Regions from separate parts of the Homo sapiens genome. Here regions 1, 2, 3, 4 and 6 are each linked to region 5. Evidence: promoter capture Hi-C in 16 types of primary human blood cells and fetal thymus (Javierre and others, 2016). All regions are on one chromosome and are shown on one strand. The core of a region is centred on a gene start or on the middle of the fragment in contact, and the rest is flanking DNA. Distances in the headings are between cores, read along the strand shown.

Region 1 (4,869 bases), core at 1,077-3,576, 7.6 Mb after region 5:
TTGTGCCTCGGCCTCCAGGGTATCTAGGACCACAGGTGAGCGCCACCACTCCCGGCTAATTTTTGTATTTTTTGTAGAGACGGGGTTTCACCATGTTGCCCAGGCTGGTCTCCAACTCCTGAGCTCAAGTGATCCACCGGCCTCAGCCTCCCAAAGTGCTGGGATTACAGGCATGAGCCACTGTGCCAGGCCCTGGCTGATTTTTAAAATTTTCTTTCTTATTTTCTCCTCTTCTTTTCTTTCCCCTTTCTTCTTTTTTTTCTTGTTTCTTTTCTTTTCTTTCTTTTTTCTCTCTTTCTTACTTATTTTTATTTTAAAATTTTTGGATAGACGGAAGTCTCCCTATTTTGCCCAGGCTGGTCTTGAACTCCTCAGCTCAAGAGATCCGCTCACCTCGGTCTCCCAGAGTGCTGGGATTACAGGCGTAAGCCACCATGCCCCGCCCATTTTTATACGTTTAGGTTAATGCTTTCCAACAAAGCTGATGAGAGGATTACATGAGACAGTGTGAAAAATACTTAGCATTTTCTCTATTCTTAAAACCACCCCTCCTCATTTACCTCCTATGATTCATTTAATTATTTTATCTCATTTAATTCTCATACCTTCTTGCAACCTAGGGCTTAGTGGCGTAAGACCCAGGGATGATTTATCAAGTTCTCACCTCCAGGCTTTTCTTATTAGGTGTATCACTGCTGATGAAGTTAAAAATATACCATTCTTGCATATTGACTATTTTGAATTAAAAGCACTTGAAAAACAATAGATACAAAAAAATCATTCTGACCTCTTTTCTGTTTCTTAGAAGCAGATGAAATTACCATATGAGAGACATCCTCCCTATATTAGAAGGAATGCAGCACTCTTATTAAGGACGGGAGTCAAGAGTGAGAGAATCCTGTACACACCTTGCTAAAATAACTCTTAAGCCTCTCCAGATAACTTAATTGCTTTTCACAACTTGCTATTACTACTCTTACTACCGGTATTACTATTATCGTTATTCTCATTATTCTTTGTTTAATTCCGTATAGATAAGTAACTGACCATAATTGCTTCTTTGGGTCCTTCTCTCCCTTCCCTTCCCTTTTCTTCCCTTTCACTTTCCCTTCCCCTTTCCTTTCCCTTCCCTCCCTTCCTTCTTCTTCTCTAGTTCTTTTAAGGGGTGAGGGTGTCTCACTGTGTCGCCCAGTCTGGAGTGCAGTGGCGTTATCATAGCTCAGTGCAGCCTCGACCTCCTGGGCTCAATCAATCCTCCCGCGTCGGCCTCTCAAACTACTGGGAATACAGGCGTGAGCCACCAAGCCTGGCCTAGAACATAAATTTAATATCAGGTAAATCTTATCAGAGATGCATACATGTAAGGTAGAAAGAGACTACACGGTCTGCACAGAATTTTATACAAATGTATAGAGCAAAAAAGAAAAAAATTAAACTTCTCTGGATTCCATTGATTAAAAATTTAAAAAAATAAATAAAAAACTTCTTTGTCTTCGAGACGTTAAGAGGATGCACCTTCTTATAACCTTGCACCCTGCATATCCTGTGAGTGAGCCCAGAGCTACTTCCCTAGGAGCGTGCGTATTTACAGTTCCGAGGGTACGAAGGCCTCTATCTGCATTGCAGTAGAGGGACGGCCTGTTATCGGGCTTGTGAAATTGTCAAGAAGACAGCCTGGAGGGGACAGTCACCGCCCATGTCGGTAACCTTCCACTAGTCTCTGGGGTTAACAGCGTCACAGACAGGGACTTCTCCCTTGGAGCTTACATTCGAATATATTAATAACTCCAGAACGTGGTCAGTGGTCCTGGAGGACGACCGCTTCTGGTAGGGCGGCCAGGAAAAGCCTCTGTGAAGAGGCGATCTTTGAGCTGAATTTTGGAGCTTTAATAAATACTTAAAGAGCGAACGGAACGAGCGATGCCTGACGTTCAACCCAGCGGTTGCCAAGGAGCTAAAGAGCGTCTCACTTTGGCTTCCGGATTGTTATGAACAGGAGGAAGGAGAAAAAAAAACCAGAATTGTTCGAGAATTGTGCTTTCGCGGCTCTCAGGCTGAAAACGGGGTTTCCACATTAGTTCCCATCGCCAGGGGCTGAAACGAAGCCCGGGATCCAGACATTAGGCGCCTGGGGCGGGAGCCTGCAGCGGGAGCTTGCGGCGGGAGCCGGGCGAGGCAGCGGCGGGGCGGGGCCATGATGGGGCGGGGCTACGGAAGCCGAGCGGGCTCGAGGCGTTCGGCTGAGGAAGGGAGCGCACGCCGGCGGCGCGGAGGCCGGCTCTGCGCTTCGGGCCGCCCCCTCCCCCCACCCCGCTCACACCCGGCACTTACTTCGGCTGTCTCCGCTGCCCTCCAGCGGAGACGCAGCTCCTCAGGCGCCCGGCGGTATTTGTTGGGTCGGCGGCGTCAGGGATTCGCAGTGGCCTGTGGTCGGCGTCGTCCGGCCACTGGTGCGCCCCCGCGGCAGGCAGAGCTCACGCTCCTGTCCCCCGGCTGGTCCGGGGTCTGGGCGCCGCGTCGACGGCGGCTCCGCAGGACGCGCAGACCGGGCCGCAGCCCATTCCCCGAGCGGACTGCATTATGAGGCACCTGCCTTACTTCTGCCGGGGTCAAGTGGTGCGGGGCTTCGGCCGCGGCTCCAAGCAGCTGGGCATCCCCACAGGTGAGAGCAGGGCGGCCAGAGTCCCCCGGGCCGGGTCACGTGGGGAGCGGGGAGAGACGGCAGCCGGGGACTTGGGACCGGGGCGTGGGGCCTCCGGACCGCGGGCAGAGAGCACACCCTTCCTCCTCCCGCATCCCCTTGTCTGTGGCGGAGGACCGTTGGCTCGGTTGAGGGAGCTTGTCCCTGCTTCTGGCTCCGAGCTCCGCGGGGACGGGGTTGAGGGGTGGTGAGGGCCGGAAGCCCGAGATGAATCGCAGGATTCCCCGTTCACGCCTCCTTGGCCAGCCAAGGTACAGTTGGTCAAGCATTGCGCTTGTCTTGCCCATTAGAGACGTAACGTGGGCCAGAACGGCTGAACTCGCAAGCCGGGTCTAAGGTGGTTTTGTTTTTAATTTGTAATTATGTAATGTCCAAATGATAACATAGGTAGTTGAATGAGAGTCAGCTAACCTTCTTGGTCTGTCTACATTAATTTCAATAATCGAGACCTGACTGTAATTCATCCTTAGAAATACATGCCAGAGCTGCGTCTTGACTTGTTAAGTCAGCCTTGAGCTTGTGTATTTGAAAAATAAGAAGCTTTGGCCGGGCGTGGTGGCTCACGCCTGTAATCCCAGCACTTTGGGAGGCCGAGGCGGGCGGATCATCTGAGCTCAGGAGTTCGAGATCAGCCTGGCCAACATGGTAAAACCCCGTCTCTGCTAAAAATACAAAAATTAGCTGGGCATGGTGGCGCGTGCCTGTCATCCCAGCTACTCGGGAACCTGAGGCAGGAGAATCGCTTGAACCCAGGAGACGGAGGCTGCAGTGAGGCGAGATCGTGCCACTGCCCTCCAGCCTGGGCGACAGAGTGAGACACCGTCTCAAAAAAAAAAAAAAAAGAAAGAAACTTTTCAGGTGATTCAGTACCTGGTTAGGAAAGAACAGATCTGAAAAAATCCATCTACTCTGGTACTTGTTTTTTGCATCCTACTCAAAGAGTATGGATTTTTTTGGAGAGCTTTATATACTTACCTGGTACTTTATTCATAACCTATTCACATGAATAGGAGAGGGAAATCTGAGCCGGAAAATGGAAGGATGGGATTGATACTTACAGGCAAAGTTGTAGGAGTCTTGTGAATGTAATGATTTACATTAGCCTTGCATGTGATTTTTACAAATGTTTGTTTCTTATTATTATTTTGAGACAGAATCTGGCTCTGCCACTCAGGCTGGAGTGCAGTGGTAGTGCGATCATAGCTTACTGCAGCCTCCATCTGCTGGGCTCAACTGACCCTCCTGCCTCAGCCTCTCTGGTAGCTTAGACTATAGGTGCAGGCCACCATCCCCAGCTAATTTTTTAATAGAGGTAAGATCTCACTATGTTACCCGGGCCGGTCTCAAACCCCAGAGCTCAACATGAGCCTCCTGCCTTGGCCTCTCAAAGTCCTAGAATTACAGACATGAGCCACTGCACTCGGCTACAGGCATTTAATACGAAATTTGTAAGACTCAAAATATTTTCTTCTGTTGTTTAGCTAATTTTCCTGAGCAAGTGGTAGATAATCTTCCAGCTGATATATCCACTGGTATTTACTATGGTTGGGCCAGTGTTGGAAGTGGAGATGTCCATAAGATGGTGGTGAGCATAGGATGGAACCCATATTACAAGAATACGAAGAAGTCTATGGTAAGCATTATATTTTGCTCTGTAACCGAAAATGGTATGATGACTTAGAATAATATATTACAGTATTCGTTACAGAAATAGCTTATCAGTGGTAATCACAACGTAGTTCAAATACTGGAATTTTGGGCAATCTCTGTCTTTTAATTGGAGAGTTTAATTCATTTACATTTAAAGTAATTTCTGATAAGGAGGGACATCTACTGTTTTGCTATTTGTTTTTTATATGCCTTATAACTTTTATGTCCCTCATTTCCTCTATTACTGCCTTTTGTGGTAGTGTGCTTTTTGTTTTGTTTTGTTTTGTAGTGACATTTTAATTCCTTTCTCATTGCTTTCTGTGTATTTCTATAGATACTGTCTTTGTGGTTACCATGGGGTTTATATTTAACATCCTGAAATTCTAAAAGTTTAATTTGAGTTTATACCAACTTAATTTCAATAGCATACAGAACTCAGAAATTGCATCTTTTTTTTTTTTTTTAAAGATGGGGTCTCACTATGTTGCCCAGACTGAAGTGCAGTAGCTGTTCACAGG
Region 2 (4,883 bases), core at 995-3,494, 5.9 Mb after region 5:
ACTGTAGAGTGTTGGTTTTTCTTACTTCCTGGTTTCTCCCCAATACTTGAAACATTCTCCTATTGATTCATTGCATCCATTTAAGTATCTAAGTTGCCAGGGAGTGTTCATGATGTTGGGGGGATACAGGGGGGACAAAACAGACTCTGACTCTATAGCCCGCTGAAACAGATGAATTCATCAAATAATAGGACAATTCAGTCAAAACATATTACCTGATAGCCTGATGGCTCATTTTAAAAGACATTTTTAAAAGTCTCAGAGGATCCCTGGGTAGGTAACCAGAGACTTCAAGCTTTCTGTCATTTGGTTTTCCAGTGTTCTGTGTCTCTCCAAAGCTCATATACATACATATATTCGGAGGATGCAAACTTAAAATTTTTTCTTCTGAAGCCACTTTCTATTTTTGCATACTGAATTTCAATCTTTAATTTCTTTAGTCACTTGATTTTAAATTTTAATTTCATAGCAAGTCTAGCTGTTCTCTGTAGGCATTCACATAAAAGGGTTGAGGTTTGCCCTCTCTGCTCTCCAGGGCAAGGTGAAATTTAATTATTTTCTAGGTTTTAAACAGAGAACCTAAAATATATATTTTATATCTTGACTTGCTTGATTTAAATCGTGGTTTAGAGTGTGTGTATGTGTGTGAAACGGTGGAGTAATGGCAAATGAAAGAAAGAAGGAAGTTACACACCTGTTGTCTAAGAACCCTATATGAGTTCTTGATCTGTAGCAAAAGCAGAGTCATGACCGTACCTTACACTCTGGATCAGCAGGTTGCACCAGGGACACTTCAGAGAACACATGAAACGTGAAAAAGCGGTTCTCTTCATAAAAGACAATTTTCTTTGAAGACCTCAGGTTCCTTTAAGGCAGGAAGCAATATGAGTTTCATCTCCTGGGCCTGATTAAACAAGATTATTTTCGTGTGCTATTTATCAGTAGACGATCACAATGAAATGTGCATACGACAGTTTACTGCCTCAATCACATATTGCAAATCAAAAAAACTAGAATGCCGTTTTGCTGGGGCCTCCTTAGTTTCTCTTCTATTTCATTCTTTCCTTTCCTTTTATTCCACATTATTTTACATTTTCCCATAAGTCATCCATAATTCAATCTCAGTCTAGAAGAGTAAATTCGATTACTCGGCGGCTAAACATCGTGTGCCTTCTCAGAAACAAGAGAACTTGTAAAACAAAAACAAAAACAACTTAAAAAAACAAAAACAACCAACAACCACCAAAAAAACAAAGGCATGAAAAGTTGGAACCTATCGGGAGGCTCTTGGAAACTTGGGCAGCTTCCTTTCTCTGTTCAGGATTTAGATTTCTATCTCACGTTACTTTGCGAACAGCTTCGCCTGTGAATCTCCCCCTACACCTCTGGGCACCGGTGCCAATTCCTTCCCTTCCCTTCCCCAGTAGCCCCACACAGTATAGAGGAGCTTATTTTCTAAGACTGCACCGGTGTCAGAGGTGACGTGAGAGTTTCTAACCGAATGGCGTTTTAGAAATAGGAACGGGAAACACAGAAACGGCTGAGGAGCGACCCCGTGGAGCAGACAGGCACAGCCCGGGAGCGGCGGACGCCAGCGCCGGCGCCGCAGGGAGCGCGTGCGGGGCTCCGCGGGGCCGCCTCCCGCGACTTCAGCAGGGGCCGCGGCCGCGCTCCCGGGCCGGTGGGCTGAGGCAGGCAGAGGCCGCCATATTCCTGTCTCACCACGCCCGGCCGGACGGCAGCCGCAGGTCGGCTGCGGCCCTGGCACGCAACGGCGGCCGCCGGCTCGGGCTGCGCGTCGGCGGCCGGGTCTGGCCCCGACTTCGGCCGGGGGCGGCCGTGACTGCTGCGCCCGCGGACTCTGCCGAGGGTGCGGGAGCAGTAGGCGTCCGCAGAGCCCGCGGGGGCCGGCCCAGCCCGGGAGCCGCGCGGGCGAGGCGAGAGCCGCACTGGGAGGCGCGCCGCGGCGGCCGCGAGCCCAGGAAAGCCTTCCAGGAGGGGCCGGGCGGCACCGCCTCCCGGCTCCCTCCTCCCGCGCCCATCCCCTCCGCCTCTTCCTCCTCCTCCTTTCGCCGCCGCCTCCTCCCTCCCGGATCTGTGCTCCAGTTCAGAGAAAGAAGAAAATGTGTGTGTGTGGCGAGGGGGAGGGCTCGCACTGAGCAGCCGCTCCGCGCCTGGCAATCGGGGCAGGGGGTGGGCGTCTGGCGGGGGCGGGGGCGGAGGCGGAGGCGGAGGAGCGCGCGGTTGCCGGGCGGGACGGGAACCGGGTCTGCGCGCGAGCCGGGCGGTGGGCGCGGACAGGGCCGAGGGCGCCCGGGAGCCGTGTCAGGCGGCGGCGAGGAGCGGGCGCGCCGGGCGCGGGGAGCCGTCGGCGGCCGCTCGCTGCGGGGACACCCCGGTGAATGAGCTCTCGCCGCCAGGCGCACGGCGTAGGGGAGCCTCGCAGGCGGCGGCGGCGGCGGCGGCTCGGGGGGCGAGGCGGGCCGCCTGTTCCCGGGGAAGGAGGCGCGGGCGTCTGAGCGAGGCCGGGCGCGGCGGCCTTCTCTCACGCGCCCCCCGAGCCAGCGCCCGCCTCCCGCGCCCGCCTCTCTTCTCCCGTCGGCCCAGACTATCCGCTCCCACCGCGCCCCCGGCCCACCTGGTGGCCCCGGCCCTGGCCGCCGCCCCCGCGGCGGTTCCCGGAGCTCGTCCCGGACGCGCGCCCGGGCGGCGGGGGCTCGGCGGCCACCGCTGCCTCGGGGGAGCGAGGGCGGGAGGGTGTGTGTGCGCGCTGTGAGCAGGGGGTGCCGGCGGGGCTGCAGCGGAGGCACTTTGGAAGAATGACTCTGGAGTCCATCATGGCGTGCTGCCTGAGCGAGGAGGCCAAGGAAGCCCGGCGGATCAACGACGAGATCGAGCGGCAGCTCCGCAGGGACAAGCGGGACGCCCGCCGGGAGCTCAAGCTGCTGCTGCTCGGTGAGTACCGTCCGGGGCCCCGCCGGGCCTCTGCGCCCCCAGCCCACCATCCTTGGCCCTGCGGGGCAGCTGCCTTCGGCGCCCCCGCCCCCCGGCGCCCGCGGTTCGCCCCTACCCTCCCGGGCGCGCCCCCGGCCACTGCCTTCACCCGCGCGGGCGCGCGGGCGCGTTACACACAGACACACACACACACACACACACACACACACACAGCGACACACACACGCAGCACAGGGGTCGGGGCTGCCCTGCCCGGTGCCTTGGCTTGTTCCTTTTCGTGTCCCTGAGGGCTGTACCTTATCTGCTGTGCATCTGCTAAATGGCAGATCACTCCGACCAGAGGCGCGGGGGTGGAAAGGTGGGCAGAGGGGTTGAACTTCCAGTGTCGTGGCCGCGGCACCCCATGGGGTGGTGGCGTGGGGAGCCGTGTGTGTGGCCCAGCGGGTGGCGAGCGGAGCCGGGGCACGTTGGGGGATGGCCTGCGGTGGAGTGGCCGGTGTGCATCCATTATCAGTGCCCTATGGGGTCAGGAGGGAATGGGGGAACGGTGGGCAGACTCGCAGCTGGATTCCCGGAGCACTCATGGTGAGGAAGCCAAGTGGTTGGCCCTCCAAGGAAAGGGTCTGTGTACTGGGGGCGAGGCGGGAGGGCAAGCCCAAATGTGTCACACAAGTGCTGTTCTCTAGCCACCAGACCATCGAAAGGAGGGAGCCTAGAAGAGTTGGCCAGTGGATGGTGACAGGCGTTATTCTCGTCTGCACCATTCCTTCTAGATAAAGATGAGGGTAGGGGAGCGTTGTGCTGTGTGGTTGTTGACAGCGACCGGTATCTTTTGTTTAATGAGGCAACCTAGATGTAGGCCTCAGTTCACAATAGTTACTACCGAAAACCAGTGCAGTCTCTCAGTTACTCTCTTGGCAACAAATAGAAACCTTTTGTTTAAAACAGATAGCATTTTAATGTCTTTGGAATCTGGGCGAGAAGGAAAAACGGGAAGCATACAGGAAAAATTTCCCTCTAGTCTTGAAAAAAAAATTCTGCTTCAACACTAAGTTAGCAAGAAAATGCCATTTCTCAAATAGAAATTTATTGATGATTATCTCTGGGAGGATGTTCAGAATCAAGCGATCAGGGTTCATATACAAGCCACAGTGACAGAACCCTGAGCTACTGTGGCAGGAAGAGCAAACAGCTTTGCAGTAACGGGCCTGAAAAATGTCTGCACTTGTGTTCTGGGTATTTGCATGTATAATAAATGTGTTTCTCAAACATTTCTGTAAGAAAAGAATATTGTACTGTTAGTTGGTGTTTGTGAGAAGCATGCATTTTCTTTCTTATCTTGAGCATTCCATTTGCTGGCTCAAGGAACCAATTGCCTTTGGGAATGAACTGCTTATGTACTGGATCATTTACAAGCAGGAACAAAATATACTGATCACACACATAGTTACTAATAGTTAATTCCCATGACATGCTTTCTTTATGTCTTCATTTTGAAACTCAATTAGATAAATGTGCACATGTTTATAAAAAGCAGAAGGCAAAAGCACTGGATGAAAGAGTTGGGCTTAGGGGAATGAAGCCAGGGAGGAGGCAAACTGCAATTGGAAAGTAAAGATTTTTTTTTTTTTAATTCTCATTTTGAGCTACTTCTAGTGGCTGAAAACAGGCAGTTGAATGTTTTCTGAGTTCTCAAGGTTGAGAAGAAAATAAAGAACAAAAGAAATAAGAGTGTTTTAAGTGTATAATTAAGGGGAAACGCACGTATTTTAGAGAGACTTGTTTTAAGAATTGTGTTTTTTTTTTATTTTATTGCCCTGTTGACAGTCTTTGTTTCTGTTTAATTGTGAACTGGGCAGTTGAGGTCTCTCCAGCCAACCCTATTTGCCTGAAAAGTGACAGCTCTGAGTTTCCCAGCAGCTAAGAGT
Region 3 (4,905 bases), core at 1,626-4,125, 5.7 Mb after region 5:
GACTGGGTCCCCCCAGTGGAATGTGGGCCAAGTGGATGTGTGTCACTTTCAGGCCAGGGTGGTTGAGAAATGGGTGTGCTTCTCCACTTCCTTTTTCCCATTCCACAGGCTGAAAACAAAAAACTCCCTGGCCCCTAAGGACAGTGGAGACACAGCAAAGAGGGAGCCCCAGGTCCCTGAATCACCTGCACCAGACTTGTCATATGTAAGTGAGAAATCAGCTTCTTTTGTGCTATGTCACTGAAATATGAGAGGCGATTTGTTACAGCAGCTCACATTATCCTGATTATTATGCCATCCTAAATGCAACAGCTGAAGTTCAGATCCAGCTGGTTGTTGCCAAGCAGGCAAATGAAGTTGCTTGAGCTGTCTTCACGTTTTGAAAGAAAACCCAGGAACCCAGATTTTTATGTGACATCTCATTTTTAAACATCTACAAATGTAAATTTCAGCAAAACACTGTACAGATCAATATTTTGAGGGGCAAACTCCAGCTTATCTGAGGCCTTATTGAGCCTACAGGTAACAAGCTCTCTGAAGGACTGTTTATAGTGTTCTGCCCCCAAATTTCCTCCAGTTCAACAAGGAACACCCTCAGCTAAGTGCTTGAATAAAGCAGCAGCAAAGGAGGAAACATAATTTAATCTCAAAATATTATTTTGTCCTTCTTGCCTATTTTGCACTGATCTATAAAGACAGTCCAGGCCGGGCACGGTGGCTCACGCCTGTAATCCTAGCACTTTGGGAGGCGGAAGCAGGCAGATCATGAGGTCAGGAGATCGAGACCATCCTGGCTAACACGGTGAAACCCTGTCTCTACTAAAAATACAAAAAATTAGCTGGGCATGGTGGCGGGCGCCTGTAGTCCCAGCTACTTGGGAGGCTGAGGCAGGAGAATGGCATGAACCCGGGAGGCGGAGCTTGCAGTGAGCCAAGATCGCGCCACTGCACTCTAGCCTGGGAGACAGAGTGAGACTCCATCTCAAAAAAAAAAAAAAAAAAAAAGACAGTCCAGAGGAACCCCTGCATGTGGGAGGGATCCTTCCCTCTTAGTAGATTCTCATTTAGCAAGTACAAAGAAGCTTCTTTATGAAATACATATTTCGTAAAAAGGCAGAAATTCAATTTTCACAAGTATTATTCATTGAGTACTTCTATATGTGAAAGATGCTGGGCTCTGCTGCGATTGCCAATCAGACCCAGCCATCCTGTTTAGAGAGCAGTGAGAAGAGAAGTAGGCAACATGAGCAGGGGAGAAAATCTATTTGGAATGAGACAAGATTATTTCTGCTGCCCTTTTTGTAGTTGGAGCTAAAGATCCTTTTCCCTTATCATTATTCCCAGAGAACGTGAGGAAGGGAAGCTGGGCCCAGTGGCTGACGCCTATAATCCCAGCACTTTGGGAAGCCTAGGCAGGCGGATCACTTGAGGTCCGAAGTTTGAGACCAGTCTGGCCAACATGGTGAAACCCCGTCTCTACTAAAAAAAAAAAAAAAAAAAATTAAAAATTAGCCTTGCATGGTGTCCCGCACCCGTAGTCCCAGCTACTCAGGAGGCTGAGGGAGGAGAATTGCTGCCCCCAGCTCCAGCAACCACCATTCTACTTCCTGTCTCTATGAATCCGACCACTCTAAGTACCTCTTGTATGCGGAGTCATACAGAATGATTGATCCCGGGAGGCGGAGGTTGCAATAAGCCAAGATTGCGCCACTGGACTCCAGCCTGGGTGACAGAGTGAGACCCTGTCTCAAAAACAAACAACAATTTTAAAAAGTGGGAGAGAGGCAGTAATCATAGTTTATGTAGCAAAAAGAAACCAAAAGTCAAAGTCCTATTACTTTCTTTATTCTGACCCCAACAGATAGGAAAAGATATCCATCCTACTCTCTTTACCTCAGTTTATTTCCTTGCCTACTTTGCTTCATTTTTTTATTGACAAAATATGCATAACATAAAATTTACCATTTTCAAGTGTACAGTTAAGTGGCAGTAAGTACAGTCATATTTTTGTGCAATCGTCACCACCATCCACCACCAGAACCTTTTCATCTTCCCACACTGAAACTCTGTACACATTGAACTATAACTCCCGCCACTCCCCAGCTCCAGCAACTACCCTTCTACTTCCTGTCTGTATGAATTTGACCACTCTAAGTACCACCTGTAAGTGGAATCATAAGAATTTGCCCTTTTGTGTGACTGGTTTATTTCACTTAGCATAATGTCTTCAAGGTATACCCATTGTGCTTCATTTTTTTTTTGTAGAGATAGGGGTCTCGCTATGTTGCCCAGGATGGTCTCGAATTCCTGCCCTCAAGTGATCCTCCCACCTTGGTCCAACAAAGTCCTGGGATTACAGGCATGAGCCATTGCACCTGGCCTCATTTTGCTTTATTTTTAAAGATTAGTATAGATGTTTAAAAGATCTTTAAGCTCCGCACAAGTGAAATCCCTAAAGAGGTTATTTAAGAGGCACGCTCTCTGTGGACTAGTGGGCAGAATTACACAGGGGATGCACACTGCTTCTACCTCTTACATCCTTAAAAGATTTCAAAGTGGAAAAAGCATCAGAATTTATTTAACTTTTTTTTTTTTTTTTTTTTAGAGAAAGGGGCACAACTCCTGGCACCATCTCTAACGTGTTTACACACTGGTATTTTCCACTCCCAGCCCCGCTGGCTCTGCTCATACGCGTGTGCATTTTTGGGATCAGCACTCTTCATGAGGGCTGCCTCACAGAAGGGTTCCACATGGAAGCCTGAAAACTAGCCACAGACCACTCGTTTCACCACCTGTGCAAAGTCAACACATGCCTATTTCAGACAACCATCCAGGCTGTTTGAGAACGACTTTTGTAGAGTTAATAATCTGTGGGTTGTTTTGTTCTTTCCTTTTCTTTATGAGGCCAGAGGAAATACTAAGGCAAAGCACAGAGAGAGAAAATTCAGGGATGACGGGAGCAGAAGCCAGTTCAGGATGTGAAAAGTCTTGCTTTTTCCTCTTCTTTTTCTCATGCTTCAAACTGAGTGCCAGCTCCAAAGAACCACGCACACTGCCTCAGAGATAAGCAGGGACTGTCATTTAATTGTATTGTTTGGCTTATGTCTTGTATAGAAAGGCAGCAAAGATTAATTAAAAATAACAAGAATTCAAAGCTGCTGGGGGTGAGAGGCATTTCTGTAACCATCAAAACGAACTGGGCAGGGGCAAGGGGAGCAGCTGGCTTGAGGGGAGGGAGCTGGAGGGGAGGGAAGACTGGCTCAGCATGTTGTGGTGTGTGCATCTGAGGCATATCCAAGCAGGGTGTGTGTGAAGACTTTTTAATGACGTAAGAATACGCCTCATATGAAATATCAAAATGAAAGAAAAAGCTGCTTCTCATCAGCACAACAATTAACTATCTCCAAAAACAATTTTTTTAAGCCCACCTCCTTGGAGTCACAAATTCTACTCAAACTTAGACAACAAATTATAGTCCCAAACCAGAACATCAACAGATGTGTTCAGATTCATTCATTCAACAAGTACCGTCACGCATCGCTTAACAACAGGGATATGTTTTGAGAAATGCATCCTTGGGCGATTTCATCGTTGTGTGAACATCATAGAGTGTGCTTACACAAACCTAGATGGCACAGCCTGCACACACCTAGGCTATATGATACAGCCTAAGCCTATACAGCATGTTACTGTACTGAATACAGTGAAGATTTGTTGAATGAAAGAATGAGGTTACATATACTATACCTATTGTGATAATTCTGCTAAAACAAGGAGAGGTCTGTTCCAAAGTTGATGTCTTCACCCCTAGAGACAGAAAACTGCTTATTATTATTAATTATCCTGCACCCCTTTCAGCAGAGTTTCAAAGGAGGTTTCATCTTTCCTCATTCTCAAATTCAATCTGTTCTGCTTCACAATTTTTCTGTGCTCTATCGACTTCTATCTCCATGCTGCCTGCCTCGTCCAAGCTCCCATGATCTCTTCTAGACTCCTGGGCCTGGACTCCTTGCATTGACATCACTGACTTAGAATCCAATCTCCAAACTGCAACCACAGTGAACTTTTGAAAACATACGTAAGGTAGATCATGTAGCTCCTCTGCTCAAAGTCCTCTAACAGCTTCCCGTTACATTTAGAACAACAATCAGACTCCTAATGGGCCCACAAGACCATACTTAGCCTGGTTCTTGGTCATCTCTTGGCTCAGCCCTTGCTTGTTTCTCTGGAAACTCACCAGCCTCTGCAATAGTACTTGTTTGTTGTCCATTTCCACACTAGACCATAACTTCCCAGAGAAGCTGAGACTGCACCTGCCTTTTTCACTGCTGTATCCCCAGCATCAAGCATATTAGGTGCTTGATAAATATTTCTTGAGTGAATGTACAGGGCAGGAAGAAGGAAATTAATGAAAATGCTAACAGTCTGTTGCTGGGTTGATAATTCTAAAAGAGTGAGGTGAGGATAGGCATAAGACCACCAAAAACCCCTGAAGATCCTAGGACGCCACTCTGCACCCTTTGAGAGCCTGTGGTTCTTCAGGCCCATCCTCCCACAAGTCATTTCTGCCAAGGCTGAAGGCCTCATCGAGTCCTAACATGTCGCCATGCAATTAGGATTCTAGCTCAGTTTCTTCAATGCTGAGTGAAGCTGCATGTGGAAGCTTACCAAATGATATGGTTTGGCTCTATGTCCCCACTTAAATCTCATGCTGATTTGTAATTCCCAATATTGGGCGAGGGGCCTGGTGGGAGGTGATTGGATCATGGGGGCAGATTTCCCCCATGCTGTTCTCGTGCTAGTGAGTAAGTTCTCATGAGATCTGATGGTTTAAAAGTGTACAGCACTTCCCCCTACCACCCACCACCACTTTGCCATATTAAGACGTGCTTGTTTTCCCCTTGC
Region 4 (5,036 bases), core at 1,986-4,485, 9.0 Mb after region 5:
CGATCTCGGCTCACTGCAAGCTCCGCCTCCCGGGTTCACGCCATTCTCCTGCCTCAGTCTCCAGAGCAGCTGCGACTACAGGCGCCAGCCACCAAGCCCGGCTAATTTTTTGTGTTTTTAGTAGAGACGGGGTTTCACCATGTAAGCCAGGATGGTCTTGATCTCCTGACCTCGTCATCCGCCCACCTAGGCCTTCCAAAGTGCTGGGATTACAAGCGTGATTCACCGCGCCCGGCCCCAGAATAAGTTATTTCCCAAGAGCCACCCTTAGATGCTGGTAGGTGTAATGGTCTTCCCAAGACCAGGTGCTGGATAGAAGGTCCTTGCATTTTCCTCATCTGTTGCCATCCTCAGTAAAGGAGGAATTAGGACTGCCGCAAGCCCCTAAAGACTGGAAAGATGGGACGGGCGCGATGGCTCACGCCTGTAATCCCAGCAATTTGGGAGGCCGAGGAGGGTGGATCGCCTGAGGCCAGGAATTCCAGACCAGCCTGGCCAACATGGTGAAACCCCATCTCTACTAAAAATACTAAAATTAGCCGGGCGTGGTGGCGCGCGCCTGTAATCCCAGCCACTCGGGAGGCAGAAGCAGGAGAATCGCTTGAACCCAGGAAGCAGAGGTTGCAATGAGCCGAGATCGCACCACTGCACTCCAGCCTGGGCGACAGAGTGGGGAAAAAAAAAAAAGTGAAAAGATGATGGCGCCCACTTCCGACCCCCTTAAGTAATTAAAAATAGGAATTCATTTAGGAAGTGAATTAAAACTTAAATTAGGGTGGATACAAGACGTTCCTTCTAGACTTTCTGAAATAAAAATTCCGAATAAAATCATCAAAGCCGAACTTTTCCTTTTTGCCTTTCCCTTCTTTGCTAGTGCCTGGGACCGCGTTCAGCCTCCAGCTCAACAATCCGGCACTCGCCGGCTTTTAAGTCCCACCCACGCGGCCGCGCACAGGTAACGGCAGTGCCAGTCCCACCCCACCTACGAGCTCCTCCTCCGCCTCCCACCAAGGGGCCTTGGCCCCGCCCTTGGAAGCGTGGTTGTGACGTCAGCGCGCTGTCTCCGAAGCCCGGCAGCAAATGAGCGCAGACCGCACGGGCCCTCCGCGTACCAAGGCACACGCATGCGCATTGGTTCTGGGAGCCCTGAAGACCTGGCGGAGCCCAGCGCGGATGGAGGCCTGAGGGTGGCGGGGGCGGAGCGCGCCGCGAGCTGGGGGCATGTCCGCGGCGGGCGCCGTCTAGAGGAAGGCCAAGCAGCCGCCACCACGCTGTCGGTCGCGGAGAGACGCAAGCGAGCCAGGCCGAGGGCCGCGGCGGCGATGCAGCGACGGCGTCGCCCTCCGCCGCCCACCTCCCGGCTGCCCGAGGGCTGCGGGGGAGGAGGCGGTGGCAGCGAGGAGGTGGAAGTGCAGTTTTCCGCCGGGCGTTGGGGCTCGGCCGCGGCGGTTTCGGCGGCAGCGGCGGCGGCCACGCGCAGCACCGAGGAGGAGGAGGAGAGGCTTGAGCGTGAGCACTTCTGGAAGATCATTAATGCCTTCCGCTACTACGGGTAAGGAGCCCGTGGCGGACCCCGGCCCAGACCGTCGGGGCGCCCACTGGTGGCGGCGGACCCGCCGGAACGGGGGCGCTCGCCGTCCCGCCGCCACGCCTCCGAGGCGTCGGGACCCGGCTGCTGCAGCTGACCTCCGGGCCCCGAGTCACCTCGCACCACCCCAGCCCCTCCCGGCCCTGCACACCCGCGTGTCCGCCGCGCCGTCTGCTGCACAGCCTCGTGTCTTCTGACCTCAGGATCAGATTAGCTCTCCTGCCTCCGTCCTCGTAAAGGTTTGGCTTTGAGGCCGATGGGGGTGACCAGAGAAGCGCTGTAACAATTTCAGATAGAAGACGATGGTGGTACAATCGTCCACTGCTGGGCTGATTGGTGTGTGTGGTCGATGTCCTCCAAACTGAACACACGGAGAGCCCAAGTTCACCTACGCGTGGGATGCTGTAGGACGTATTTTCCCAAACTGTTACCAGTGCTTGTAAGAGCAGTTTAAGATTTCCACCCACCCCTCTTTGGCGCTGTGAACGCACTTGCACTTTTGTGTGAGCGATTGAATGATGCTGCTCAGTGTCTTTAACTGGTGGGTGATTAAGGGCGGAAGTGGTCCGGATATTCTAAAATTTGCTAATTATTAGGAGAGATGAGAGAAGTCACAATAAGAGCTGCCTTTACGTTCTTTTTTTCTGCAAATCTGTATCTAATTCTCCCTGGTGTGCTAGGCACTGTGGTAGGACCTTTATGCTCCTCATTCATAAAAACAGCTCCCTAACTTCCACGTTTCTTCTAGATAGATGTTAAAGTAGCTTAATCACAAAATTATAATTCCAAGAGCTGAAAGGGACTTAAATCAACTGGATTTTCAGGTGAAGATAACACTTTTATTCACGTAAGAGATATGAGTCCACCGGTGACTATGTTCTGAGGCTGCAGTTGGAATCAGACAGACATGACCTCCTACGCAGGTAAACCTGTTCCCATAGGTGGGTTCCTGCTGTGCTTTATGCAAAGTTTTTTTATATTGTTCATCTTATGTATTATAGTTGTTTTTATAAATCTCTTGCTTTGCTGTGACCTCCTCAAGGGCAGGGGCTGAGTCTTTTTTATTTTTATGTCACTAGTGCTTGGCATATGTTGTTTAAGCTCTATTTTTAACAAAACAAATAGTAGCAAAGAAATACATTTCTCATTCCCAAATAGTCTGTCAAGTTTTTGACTGATAGTTAAATTAGTTTACTAGTCTGAATTTAGAAGCTTGCTTAGTGAAAGCTTAAAGTTATTTGGAATCTGATTGTATATGTGATAGGAACTTTTGAACTTCGAAGATCTTGATGAAATAATTTACTGATTAAACCCAGAAATAGGGACCAGGGACAGCATTACTTTACGGAGCCCAAAAGAGAAGTTTGGATATTTTATTTCTCCAGGTTTAGTAGTAACAGAGGGAGCAAGGCGTCAGACCATCAGAGAATTGAATTTGATGCAGGAATTGTGACGGAAAGAACCATAAAGTTAGGAAAGGCAGCTAACATCAGATAGCTAAGAGTGGGAGATACAGAAAAGTCTGGTACATTTTGCTCTTGAAAAATCTAGAAAGAATATTGGGAAATGTCTTGGGAATATGGTGGACCCATTTAGTTAAGTGCGTAGTTGTACTTACTTTTAATATATTAGGACCAATTTAAAATTGATATTTATGGGTAAGTATGGGATGGGACTTTGTTGGGGTAGGGGTTGATCAGGAACTGAAGTGTGGCAATATAGAGAAGAGATCTTGTGTGAATATTCTAGTGGTTGTGATACTATTTCCTATACTCTCTTCTTTACCAGCGTAATGTTGGATTCAGGACATTTCATTTTTTAAAAAAAACAGTTTTTATTTGTATATACTCTCTTGAAACACTTCAAATACTTGGGCTGAAAATAGTATAACATCAAAAATATGCTTTTTAAAATGTCACTTAAAGCCTAGGGGTACAGAAAGTTTATGTAGCAGAGAACAGTGGATTGTTACATTCTAATATTTTGTGATCTTCTAGACTTAAACTGTAGCCACTAATCATATCTGGATAAATTTAAGCTAAAATTAATTAGTATTTAATAAGCTTTAAAATTTAGTTGCTCAGTTTCACTACCCATATTTCAGGTGCTCAATAGCTACATGTGGCTAGAGTCTGCTGTACTGGACAGTGCAAATAAAAGCTTTTCCATTATCGAAGTAGGTTGTGATGGACAATCCGGTTCTACACATTTAGCAAGTACAGTTGACCCTTAAACAATATGGATCTGAACTGCACGGGTCCACTTATACACAAATTTTTTGAAATAAACATATTGGAAAATTGTTTTGACATTTGCAACAATTTGAAAAACTTAGCAAACTTGCATAGCCTAGAAATAGTGAAAAAATTAAGAAAAAATTATGCCATGAATGCATATGTGTAGATACTAGTTTATCATTTACTACCATAAAATATACACAAATCTATTATAAAAAGTTAAAATTTATCAAAACTTACACAAACACAGATCTTACATGGAGCTATTTGCAATTGAGATAAATGTAAACAAGCAAAGATGTAGCATTAAATCTTAGTTGCATAAAATTATCTGTAGTAGATACTGTACTACTGTAATAATTTTGTAGCCACTTCCTGTTGCTTTTGCAGTAAGCTCAGATGTTACCAGTATCTTCTTAAAATAATCACTCTGCTTTTGTCTGTCAAGTAAATTGCATATAGCAGTAAACAGATTTCATCAAATTTAATGCAATACCATAAACCTTAAATAACACCATGGGTCCCATATGACGTGCCACTGGTGATGCTGCAGGTGCTCCCAAGAAGCAGAGAAAAAAGACATTACAAGAAAAAGTTGATTTGTTTGATATGTACTGTAGATAGAGGTCTGCAGTTGGAGGTTGCCCCCCAACCCCATTTCAGACAGAGGATTCATCTTGTAATCAAATTATGTAAACTTATAGTATTGATAAATGCAGTGCAGTAGTGTAAATGTATTTTCCCTTTCCTACGACTTTCTTAATATTTTCTTAGCTTTATTGTAAGAATATAGTACGTAATATATTAACATACAACATATCTGTCAGTTGTTTATGTTATTGGTACGGCTTTCGGTCAGTAGTAGGCTATTAGTAGTTAAGTTTTTGGTGAATCAAAGTTAGGTGTGGGTTTTCGACTGCACAGGGGGTTGGTGCCCCAACCCAAGTATTGTTCAAGGGTCAGCTGTACGTCCAGATTTTGCAGGGTTCAATTTTACTGCAAAATGTCTTTTAGTTAATACGTAGGAGATTTAGATAAAAGGTCATAAAGCAAGGAATGTCTTTTGATTAATATTTTCTCTTTCTAATGGGTTTCAATTTTGTGATTCCCACAGATTTTGCTTAGATGACATTCTCATTAAGGTAAAAATGGATATAGCTCATTTGTATTGAATAGCAAAAATGTTAGTTTTATAACCCAGTCTTGTTACG
Region 5 (4,640 bases), core at 1,618-4,117:
TTCTCAATTATATTAGCCCATCTAAAGTAAATCCCCCATCTAAGTAATATTGGGTCTAAATTCACTGAGTCCAAAGTGATCACTACACCATTACACCATTGTACCAATTACACAAGACTGGAGTCAATGAATGTATTGTTAAGTTCTTGAATGAACACAGGTATAAAATTATTGGGTTGAAAAGTCTTAATTTCAAACAGAGAATAAAAGGATGGAGAAAAAAGACTTTCCTGTTATTTAAAGAGCAAACCTAAAAATTAAAAAGACGTAAAGAAGAAATCAAATGGGGGGAAAAATAGCAACCATCCCACAATGGCATCTAGAGGGGATGAATAATTTACACCAGTCGGGGTCCAGTCTGGACAATGAAACTGGGAGGAAGAGGTTTTTTTTTTTGTTTTTGTTTTTGTTTTTGAGACAGGGTCTCGCTCTGTCGCCCAGGCTGGAGTGCAGTGGCGCGATCTCGGCTCACTGCAAGATCAGCCTTCCGGGTTCACGCCATTCTCCTGCCTCGGCCTCCTGAGTAGCTGGGACTACAGGCTCCTGCAACCACACCCGGCTAATTTTTTTTTTTGTCTTTTTAGTAGAGACGGGGTTTCACAATGTTAGCCAGGATGGTCTCGATCTCCTGACCTTGTGGTCCGCCCGCCTCGGCCTCCCAAAGTGCTGGGATTACAGGCGTGAGCCACCGTGCCCGGCCGGAAGAGGTTCTTATATAGGGCTGCTTACTTGTGATTCCCACTCATCATTCCTTATCAAGAAAATGATGACTGCAACATAAATCCTAATTTGAAAGAAAGCACAGCATCATCATTACCGTACCGCTATTTGTGCATATTAGTGTCAGTGACATGTCTCAGGTTTTAAATGACAAACTCAATTAAATGTTGCAAATACTAACTGGCGGATTAAATCTCTATAATCCAAGTATCCTAAGCCCCTACATAAACTCATCAGTTTTGAATATTTAATAAAATTCTGAACTTTGTGTTTTAGAACTGAAATGCGAGTTAAGTTTTACCTACCCAACAAGACTATACACTCTTCATGGTGGGGACCATTTAAAAAATTATATTATCACTTAAAGAGAACTTTTATAAATTCCACAATCCCGGACATTATGTTCTAACAGCATGTGTTAACGTATCCTCCCAGAATGTAAATACTGGTGTTTGTCATGAAATCCTCAGTGCGCCCTAACAAGAGTTTTCCTCTAATCAGTCAAGTAAAAGATGCTGGGTGGATGCAATCATGGCCATTTAAAAGAATGCTGGTATATATGTTTTGCAAATTACCCAAGAAGGAAACATTATAACAGGAATGAATCAGCACAAATTCATCAACACTAAAATATATGCATGTATTCGGCCAATGGTGGATTTCGCTTTATGTGCAGATTATGACACCTTTATGCTTCAAAATGAGTTTGGGATTGTGGGCGGAGGCTGGAAGGTTGACGAGTAAGGATGTGGAAAGCGGGTACTACCAGGGCTGGAGATTTCCCAGGGCTGTCACCGATTGAAAGTGACCTTATGTGCCTTAACAAAGGAAGTCATGAAAGCTTGGCACAGGAGCCTTAAAAGTAAGGAACCGAATACAATGCAAGTGTGCGCTGAACCCGCTAGAACAGGAGCACGTTTGAGGGCAAGGGTTTTTGTCTGTTTTCATCACTGCCACAAGGCAGGCGCTTTGAATGGAACGTGGAGGTCTGCAACGTATTCAGCGATACGCATTCATTTTAGGAGACAAGGGCAATACATATTGCCTAAAAATTTTATCGGAATAAACTACAGCGACGACACTACAAAATACTTCCATCTCAGGTCCCATTACCCAAGAGGAAAGTCTCAGAACCGAGAGCCCTGTGAAACCGCCTGTGCCCTCTCGGCGAGAAGTTCTCCAGTACTCCCAGGCTCGCCCCGCGTTTCCCCGGCTCCCGCCCCGGCGCAAGGCAGGCCGAGAACCGCCAGCTGCGCCCCCGGGCCCGGCCTTGACTGACGGGCGCCCCGGACCATTACAAACAACGGGTTTCCGAAGCGTGGGCCCGGCCCAGCGGACGCAGACGGCCCGCACTTACCGCGCCGCAGCTCGTCCCACAGCCCACAGACCACAGCCCGGGGCGGGGTAAGGGGCTTCGGGCACGAGTGTGGGCTGTGAAAACACGGGCATAAGTCTGGGCCGAGCACCGACCTGGGCGTCCCGCATTTTCCTCGCGCAACATCGGTCCCTGGGCAGCGCAACTGTAAGGACAGGAACCGCCGCGGCGCGCTCCCAGTTCCTTTTTTACCTCTTCCCGCCCGATTTGCCGCGCGCTCGCGCCCCTCCTCCAACCCCAAAGGACTCCTTCGGGGCTGGAAAACGCCCCTTCCCCGCCCCCTCCCTGTGCGCGTGAACTAGGCAGTTGTTAGATCTCGCGAGAGGTTCGCCCCCTAGCCGCCCCTCCCCCCAGCTAGTGAGTGCGCGAACGAGAAAGGAGGAGGGCGCTCCAGGCGACAGCACTGCAGACGCCATTATCCTCTGTTTCTCTGCTGCACCGACCTCGACGTCTTGCCTGTGTCCCACTTGTTCGCGGCCTATAGGTAATTGGAGTTATTGGAGCTTGGGTATTGCTGATTCGGGTAAGGGTTGGGGCTCCCTGAAAGGCTGCGTTTACTTTTCCCAAGCCCGGGTTTTCTCGAGCCCTTAGTGGCCTCCCAGCCCGAAGGGAGGCGCTGGCGGGAGGCGGGGTTGTCGCCTCCTCCGTCGCCTTGATTGACGTGGCCTCGGGCCAATCGCTTCGCCCTCGCACCATCGCTGAAGCCCTGGCAGCCAATAGGGCGCGACGGCGGGGAGGACGCGAGAAGGCGGGGGAGGGGAGCCTGCGCTCGTTTTCTGTCTAGCTCCGACCGGCTGAGGCGGCGCGGCAGCGGAGGGACGGCAGTCTCGCGCGGTGAGGAGCCGGGTTGGGGGAGCGGCTCGTGGAGGTGAGGGTCGGAGCCCAGTTTTTCCGCTTGAGGGAGGCGTCCTGGGAGCCGCTTTGGTGTTTGGCCGCTTCTCCGAGTGGGAACGTTGCCCGGTGTCCCCTCCCCCACCTCCGCCATTTCCCTGAGCGTGTATCCGCAGTCCGCGTTGTGGTCCTAGAGACTTGGGGATTCGTGAGGCATGTGCCTCTAGGATGAGCTGGAGCTATGTGGCACTGGGAACTAGGGACCTCGTGGAGGAAAGGAGGCCGGTGCGGGGAGAAGGTCGCGCCGCCGCTCTCTTTGTGTGAGCCCCGCCTCACCTTGGGTCTCCCGGCCCGGGGTCGGAGCTGGAGCGGCGGGGATGGAACGGTCAGGGCTGCCTCGATGGCTTTGTCTCGGGCAGTGGGGGGAGGATGCGGGGGATGAGACCTCGGGACCGCGTGGTGGGTGGGGGAGGGGGTCGGCGCTCGGCTCCGCCTAGTAGCACGTAGTCGCCATTACGCGGGCCGCCATTTCCTGTCGGATCCGGGTGAGGAGAGGTGCGGTGCTTCTGCTGTCGACTTTCGCTTTTTCCCGTCCTGTTACCCGGCTGTTTTTGATCTCGGTGCCGGGAGGCGGGGAGGGGAGGGCGCGTTGGCGCTCGGCCAGTGGAGCACATACTTAGCGGATTTTTGAGGCCTGGGGACTAGTGACTGCAGGACCCGAAGGGTGAACGGCAAGCGGCAACGTTATTCTTACAGATAAGCCCTGCTGTTTTTGCTTAAACTTTCTTATCCAACTCTTCTCCCACCACACCTCAGAAATTGCGTGCTGGGCCGGAAGGATGTCGTTTCAGTTGTCGTTAGGAGAGCAATAAGTCGACCAACGGTATGGGAGAATGGGAGGCATAAATGTGCCTCGCTTGTTGGCTCTTTGCTGTCTAGCCAACCTTCTAGTAGAGGCCGCTTGTCAACTCCTAGTCCCGACAAGAGGGAAGCTTAAAAAGGCTGTTTGTAGTCCTATCGACCGTTTTGGCACGTAGACACTTTAGTTTTCGTGTTACAGGCATGATTGTTGTGTTGTACTCCCTTAAGCCTAATTTAAAATAATCCGCTAGTGACTGTTAGTTTTCAAGGGCTCCATTTGTTTCGCTGATTAATAATAGACTGGTATTGTGGTAGTTTGGGTCTGGTCCTATATTAGATTTTTGGATTTATCCCTCCGGTAGATTGTTCTGGTTGTTGGATGTGTTCGCAATTGCCGTTGTATTTGTAAACTTTAGAGATGTCACATAAGATCGCTTCAAGCATGAGTCGAAAGAAATAGGAAAGCAATTGGAAGTTTTAATATAAAATTAGTTTTCCCAGTGAATAAGATGCATTGTAACTTTTCATAAATGTATGCTTTGTGGATGACATTTATCTTTTCAGGGTTTTGGGAATGTGCCGTATAAAACAATTCATTGCTGTGGTGGGACTTAATCCAGTGGCTAAAAGTTATTGTTCTAACTTAGCAAAAAATGAAACCAGGCTCCCTTGAATTTTGTATTTTTTAGGCAGTCATTTGAATTGTGAAACCCTAAAATGAAGAATCAAGTTTTAGAAACAGCTGGTTTTTTGGGTTCAAATCAGTATTCACTGTGATCGGAAACAAATATTCAGTAATAAGAATAAACAAAAGCAAAACTGATTTGTGTTGGTTCTTATAGGCTACTGCAGC
Region 6 (4,730 bases), core at 2,084-4,583, 5.3 Mb before region 5:
CACTACTTACAAAAGAAAAATTTGGCCAGGGCAAGGTGGCTCACGCCTTAATCCCAGCACTTCGGGAGGCTGAGGCAGGCAGATGCAGCCACGAGTTCCAGACCAGCCTGGCCAACATGGTAAAACCCCAACTCTATTGAAAATACAAAAATTAGCTGGGTGTGGGGGCGCATGCCCCCTAGCTACTTGGGAGGCTGAGGCACAAGAATTGCTTGAACTTGGGAGGCAGAGGTTGCAGTGAGCCAAAATAGTGCCACTGCACTCCAGCCTGTGTAACACAGTGAGACTCTGTCTCAAAAAAAAAAAAAAAACACAAAACGACAAAAGAAAAACTTAAGTATAAAGCAGCTTCAGGCAGGTCCCTCAGGAGGGATTCCAGAATAAGGCATTGTTATCACAGGAGATGACAGCTCCACGCATGTTACTGTCCCTGAAGACCTTCCAGTGGGACAATATGTGGAGGTGGAAGACAGTGATACAGATGATTCTGACCCTGTACAGGCCTAGGCTAATGTGTGTGGTTGTGTCTTCGTTTTTAATTAAAAAGTGTAGAAAGTTAAAAAAAAATTAATAGAAAAAAGCTTATAGAGTAAGGATGTAAAGAAAGAAAATATTTTTGTCCAAGCCAAGTATTTTTGGTTTTTCTGCATGTTTGTGTTTTATTACAAAAGGTAAGTGTTATTACAAGAGTCAGAAAGTTAGAAAAATTAAAAATGTATAAAGTAAAAAAGTTACAGTAAGCTAAGGTTAATTATTGAAAAAAATACTTTTATAAATTTCATGTAGCCTAAGTGTACAATGTTTAGAACGTCTCCAACAGTGTACAGTAACACCCTAGGCCTTCACATTCACCCACCACTCAGTCATCGAATCACCCAGAGCAACTTCCAGTTCTGCCAGCTCCATTCATGGTAAGTGCCCTATACGGGTAAAACATTTTATATCTTTTTTTTTTTTTTGGAGACGGAGTCTCGCTCTGTCTCCCAGGCTGGAGTGCAGGGACGCTTGATCTCGGCTCACTGCAAGCTCCGCCTCCCGGGTTCATGCCATTCTCCTGCCTCAGCCTCCCGAGTAGCTGGAACTACAGGTGCCCGCCACCACGCCAGGCTAATATTTTGTATTTTCAGTTGAGACGGGGTTTCACCGTGTTAGCCAGGATGATCTTGATCTCCTGACCTCGTGATCCGCCCGTCTCGGACTCCCAAAGTGCTGGGATTACAGGCGTGAGCCACCGCTGTACCTTTTCTATATTTTGATACACAAATACTTACCACTATGTTACAACTGCCTACAATATTCAGTACAATAATATGGTCTAAAGGTTTATAACCTAGGAACAACAGGCTATATCATATAGCCTAGCTAGGTGGTTGGCTATACCATCTAGGTCTGTGTAAGTACACTCTAAATGTTCCCACAATGACGAAATCACCTAAGGGCACATTTCTCAGAATGTGTCCCCATCAGTAAGTGAGGCATGACTATAATTCTAAGGCTGATGAAATAGTTACCTTAACCTGATTGTGCAGCTGGGCATTTTAATTATTCTTTTTAGACATTTTATTGTATTGCAAATTTAAAGGGACTCTAATGAATTTTCTGTGCTAGTAAACTTTCCATCTTTCAGTTTGCTGGAATAAACTAGAGGGAAGCAGGTAGCATAAAACGCATAACCTCTTCCCCATCTTTCTCCTGAAATGCAATGGATAAGGTAGGCTGCAGCTACATGAAGCCACTCATTTAATTATAAGACCACAGTTACTACAGTTAATAAACGTCCCTTGTACCAGATGGTTTATGAGTGAAGTCAATGAAAAGAGAAAAATGTATATACCAAATAATACAAATTATAGGCACTTAAGATCCCACAATGCAACAGGTACCAAATAATAATCCCATCCCTGGGAAGAAATACCTCTAGAATTGCTCAGGAAGTCTGACGCCCTAAGCTGTGTCAGACCCAGGTCTCATTTCTTGGAGTAGTCACAATGAACAAGCCCATAGAAACAGCTGTATACATAGCAGGAATGTTTCTGGGGCACAAGGAGTAGGCTCGCATTATACTACATTGTTGGTTATTTTTACCTGATTTCAAACTATTCTCAGCGTAAATGGACAAATGATGTGAACCTCTAGCTGATTTTATCTCAGATGATATAGTTCCATCAGCCCTTTCACTGTCAAACTTTTGCTGATCATACGTTTTTTTCTCATCATAGGTTTTCTTCTGCAGGAAAGATTAAAAAGCAACATGAAATAAAACCACCACTATAAAAAAGGTTTAAAGCAGCAAAATATTAAGTATTCACAATTCAATCATTTTTTAAAAGGTTAAATACAAAAAAATACATGATACTTAAATATGATGTACAAATTTACCATTTCTTTACATTTTAAACATTAAAGCAACCAACTAAAGGACACAACAAAACAACATCACTACTCACCTTAAACAGAGCTTTCATTTCTTGTGGGAGAGGGCATGTGTTCTCATTTCGATGCTTCACTGTTTGAAAACCTCGGTAACAACTGGGTTGGTTATAAAGATACTGGGAGCCAGGCACTGAGTAAACATTCTGTGTGGAGTCAAGGGTATAAGGAGAATAGGCATATGGATGAAGAGTTATCTCAGAAGATAAATACTGAGGTGGAAAAGTTGAAGCTCCAAAGGCCATGTCTTCAGTATATATTTTCTGCCTAAGTAAAAAGTGTAAACTTTAGTTGCAGATTTCATACTGCAAACCAAGAAGCTTTTCTGTAATAAACTAATTCAAACTGAACATTTAATATTTCTGAGACCATTCACTCTAGCACTGGAATAATCCCTAATTAAAAGCCAAATAAAATCTCTGGGTGTTTCTTTCTCACCCTGCAAAGAAAGATGTTGACTCTATTTTTTCACTAATGAGCTGGAAGTCCGTAAGAAACATCAACAGAGCCAGAAGATGCTCCAGCAGCTTTTCACCCAATTGCTACCAAGTATTTGGGAAAGCCTCTCCCAGCAACCCTGGCCAAAATGCCCCTAAAGACCATTCTCTCTGCTGCGGGGAGACCCAACAGCCTGCAATGCCTCCACCAAGGCTCCTGCAAATGGTTTTCTCCAGCCCTTCCCTGCTCCAAGCCCACCATGACATCCTGCGCTTTGCTGACTAACAGGGTCAGAGCGCAAAGCAGACACCGCACGGCACCGTGGATGTTAACTACACACTTTACTAACAGATGGACACCAGCTTTGAAGGTTGCTATTGCCTCAATTTATCCCAAGCTGCTAGACTAAACCAAAATATAATTTAACACTAATTTTTCTTTTTTAGCCAATTTGATACAAGGCTACAGGTTTCAACCTTTTTCCCATGAAAGCTGATACAATGACAAAATGCTAAGCAACTGATTTAAAATACAAATAGTAACCTCCTCCTTCCAGCAAATGTTTCTGTTAATTTCCGGAGCTATTCCAAAATGTACTAGTACACTGAAAGGCAAAAAATCCAAACCTAGTCATGACACACCCTTTAAGACCTTCAAACTGCTACGCTGTCAGGAGATATGAGCATAAGCACCGCTTACTAGAAATCATATTTCTAATGCGCTGCAAGTAACAGACTACACTGAATAAGAAAGGGAGACTACAGGCTCTACCTATAATATAATAACGTTTACTGCTTTCACTTCTATCCAGTACTTAATCATATATTCTCTCATCTCACTGTTTACTATTTCATGATATGTTAACTTAGATTTTCTAAGATCTTTTACTTACAGGTAAGTAACTTTAACATGAAATATTCCTAATTAAAAATCAAATAAACCCCTTTTTACTGACCTTTGTCTGTCCAACAAAACAACTGGCCTAGCACTGCTCCAAACATACAGCACTGAGGACTAGCTCTTTGTAGAAAAGAGGCTCAAAGCTTCATCCCACTGCCTACATGTTCCTGTGAATTCTGTGCTGTATTTTGTTTGTAGTTGAGAAAAGCTAGTGGGGGGCAAGTGTCACTGAAGGTGGATAATCTGTTCTTCATAAAAGATGAGTTGACAGAAAAAAAAATGTGAAAAAGACTGTCCCAAGTCCAATAAATAGATAAATGAACAGACAAATGAAATGTAGCTAAAAAGGAAAGCAGGGACAGGTTCCATTGGTTTTGACGGCTGCTGTCATCCAGGAAATTTTCATCCAGGAGTCAGGAGACCTTGGTTGGGGTCCTAGCTCAATCACAATCCAGTTTTCTATTCTGGGTAAGTCATTTGGGTTTCTGTCCCCTCACTGGTCCTTCCTCCTCTGGAAAGTTGGTATTTTCCATTTCCATCCAGTGCAAACACAATTACATGCAGAAAACAACACAAAATACAAAACATCAAAGCAGTAACTCACAGCATCTGGCGTGGCTTCAAATGGCATGTCTGGGAAATTCCAGATGCCAGGAGTGGCCCAGATGACCCTAAACCCACAGTAACACACCTGTTTCTCATTCACTGTCCTAAGCTACCCCATCCATACTAAAATCAAACTGTCTGAGTAATTGTGCAATACCTGCTGGTCTCCTGGCTCCACTTCCCTTTGCCCCTTTCCCACCAACGGCTTCCAGGTCTCCCAGGACCTCCTTCTTGCCTCTCCCTCCAGGCACCCGTTGGGTCTGGCTTGACCATCACATGACTTGAAAAGCTCCCTGGCCTGGACTTTGCTCGCCTGGCTCTCACCTGCCCTCCAAGGCTCTATCTCTGTCTCTTTC

What was found. Contacts are between HindIII fragments. The CHiCAGO score rates a contact against its expected background, and 5 or more counts as called.
Region 1: the fragment with the promoter of RFK here is called in contact with the fragment with the promoter of HNRNPK in region 5 in 1 of 17 cell types (non-activated CD4 T cells); the score reaches 8.2 in non-activated CD4 T cells.
Region 2: a contact is called between the fragment with the promoter of GNAQ here and the fragment with the promoter of HNRNPK in region 5, in 1 of 17 cell types (fetal thymus). The highest score is 8.0, in fetal thymus.
Region 3: a fragment that was not itself captured here is called in contact with the fragment with the promoter of HNRNPK in region 5 in 3 of 17 cell types (activated CD4 T cells, naive CD8 T cells and total CD4 T cells); the score reaches 8.6 in activated CD4 T cells.
Region 4: a fragment that was not itself captured here is called in contact with the fragment with the promoter of HNRNPK in region 5 in 2 of 17 cell types (activated CD4 T cells and naive CD4 T cells); the score reaches 9.2 in activated CD4 T cells.
Region 6: a fragment that was not itself captured here is called in contact with the fragment with the promoter of HNRNPK in region 5 in 1 of 17 cell types (total CD4 T cells); the score reaches 5.7 in total CD4 T cells.

The regions. Positions count from the first base shown.
Region 1 is chr9:76,391,883-76,396,751 of GRCh38, reverse strand. RFK (riboflavin kinase) reads left to right here and starts at 2,326. Exons shown (of 4, transcript NM_018339.6): 1 at 2,326-2,662; 2 at 4,183-4,334. The coding sequence starts at 2,581. It also overlaps a transcript of GCNT1 not described here. RefSeq lists enhancers at 1,668-1,907, 2,085-2,379, 2,242-3,055 and silencers at 2,188-2,247, 2,268-2,347, 2,388-2,877. The HindIII fragment of the contact is 5,359 bases long and covers 1-3,243 here.
Region 2 is chr9:78,029,172-78,034,054 of GRCh38, reverse strand. It overlaps GNAQ (G protein subunit alpha q), which reads left to right and starts at 2,244. Exons shown (of 7, transcript NM_002072.5): 1 at 2,244-2,955. The coding sequence starts at 2,820. RefSeq lists an enhancer at 2,161-3,055. The HindIII fragment of the contact is 11,535 bases long and covers 298-4,883 here.
Region 3 is chr9:78,290,070-78,294,974 of GRCh38, reverse strand. No RefSeq gene overlaps it. Among named protein-coding and RNA genes, the nearest start is that of PSAT1, 4.6 kb to the left of the region's middle. The HindIII fragment of the contact is 3,581 bases long and covers 1,085-4,665 here.
Region 4 is chr9:75,024,528-75,029,563 of GRCh38, reverse strand. CARNMT1 (carnosine N-methyltransferase 1) reads left to right here and starts at 1,271. Exons shown (of 8, transcript NM_152420.3): 1 at 1,271-1,552. The coding sequence starts at 1,323. RefSeq lists a silencer at 1,050-1,739 and an enhancer at 2,390-2,439. The HindIII fragment of the contact is 836 bases long and covers 2,818-3,653 here.
Region 5 is chr9:83,978,442-83,983,081 of GRCh38, reverse strand. It overlaps HNRNPK (heterogeneous nuclear ribonucleoprotein K), which reads left to right and starts at 2,867. Exons shown (of 17, transcript NM_031263.4): 1 at 2,867-2,929; 2 at 4,630-4,640. It overlaps RMI1 (RecQ mediated genome instability 1), which reads right to left and starts at 2,277. Exons shown (of 3, transcript NM_001358291.2): 1 at 2,191-2,277. RefSeq lists silencers at 1,864-1,943, 2,754-2,893 and enhancers at 1,588-2,096, 2,154-2,243, 2,264-2,333, 2,464-2,523, 2,097-2,604 and 2 more. The HindIII fragment of the contact is 2,357 bases long and covers 1,564-3,920 here.
Region 6 is chr9:89,323,394-89,328,123 of GRCh38, reverse strand. It overlaps SECISBP2 (SECIS binding protein 2), which reads right to left. Exons shown (of 17, transcript NM_024077.5): 3 at 2,448-2,697; 4 at 2,086-2,227. Among named protein-coding and RNA genes, the nearest start is that of SECISBP2, 7.3 kb to the right of the region's middle. The HindIII fragment of the contact is 1,161 bases long and covers 2,753-3,913 here.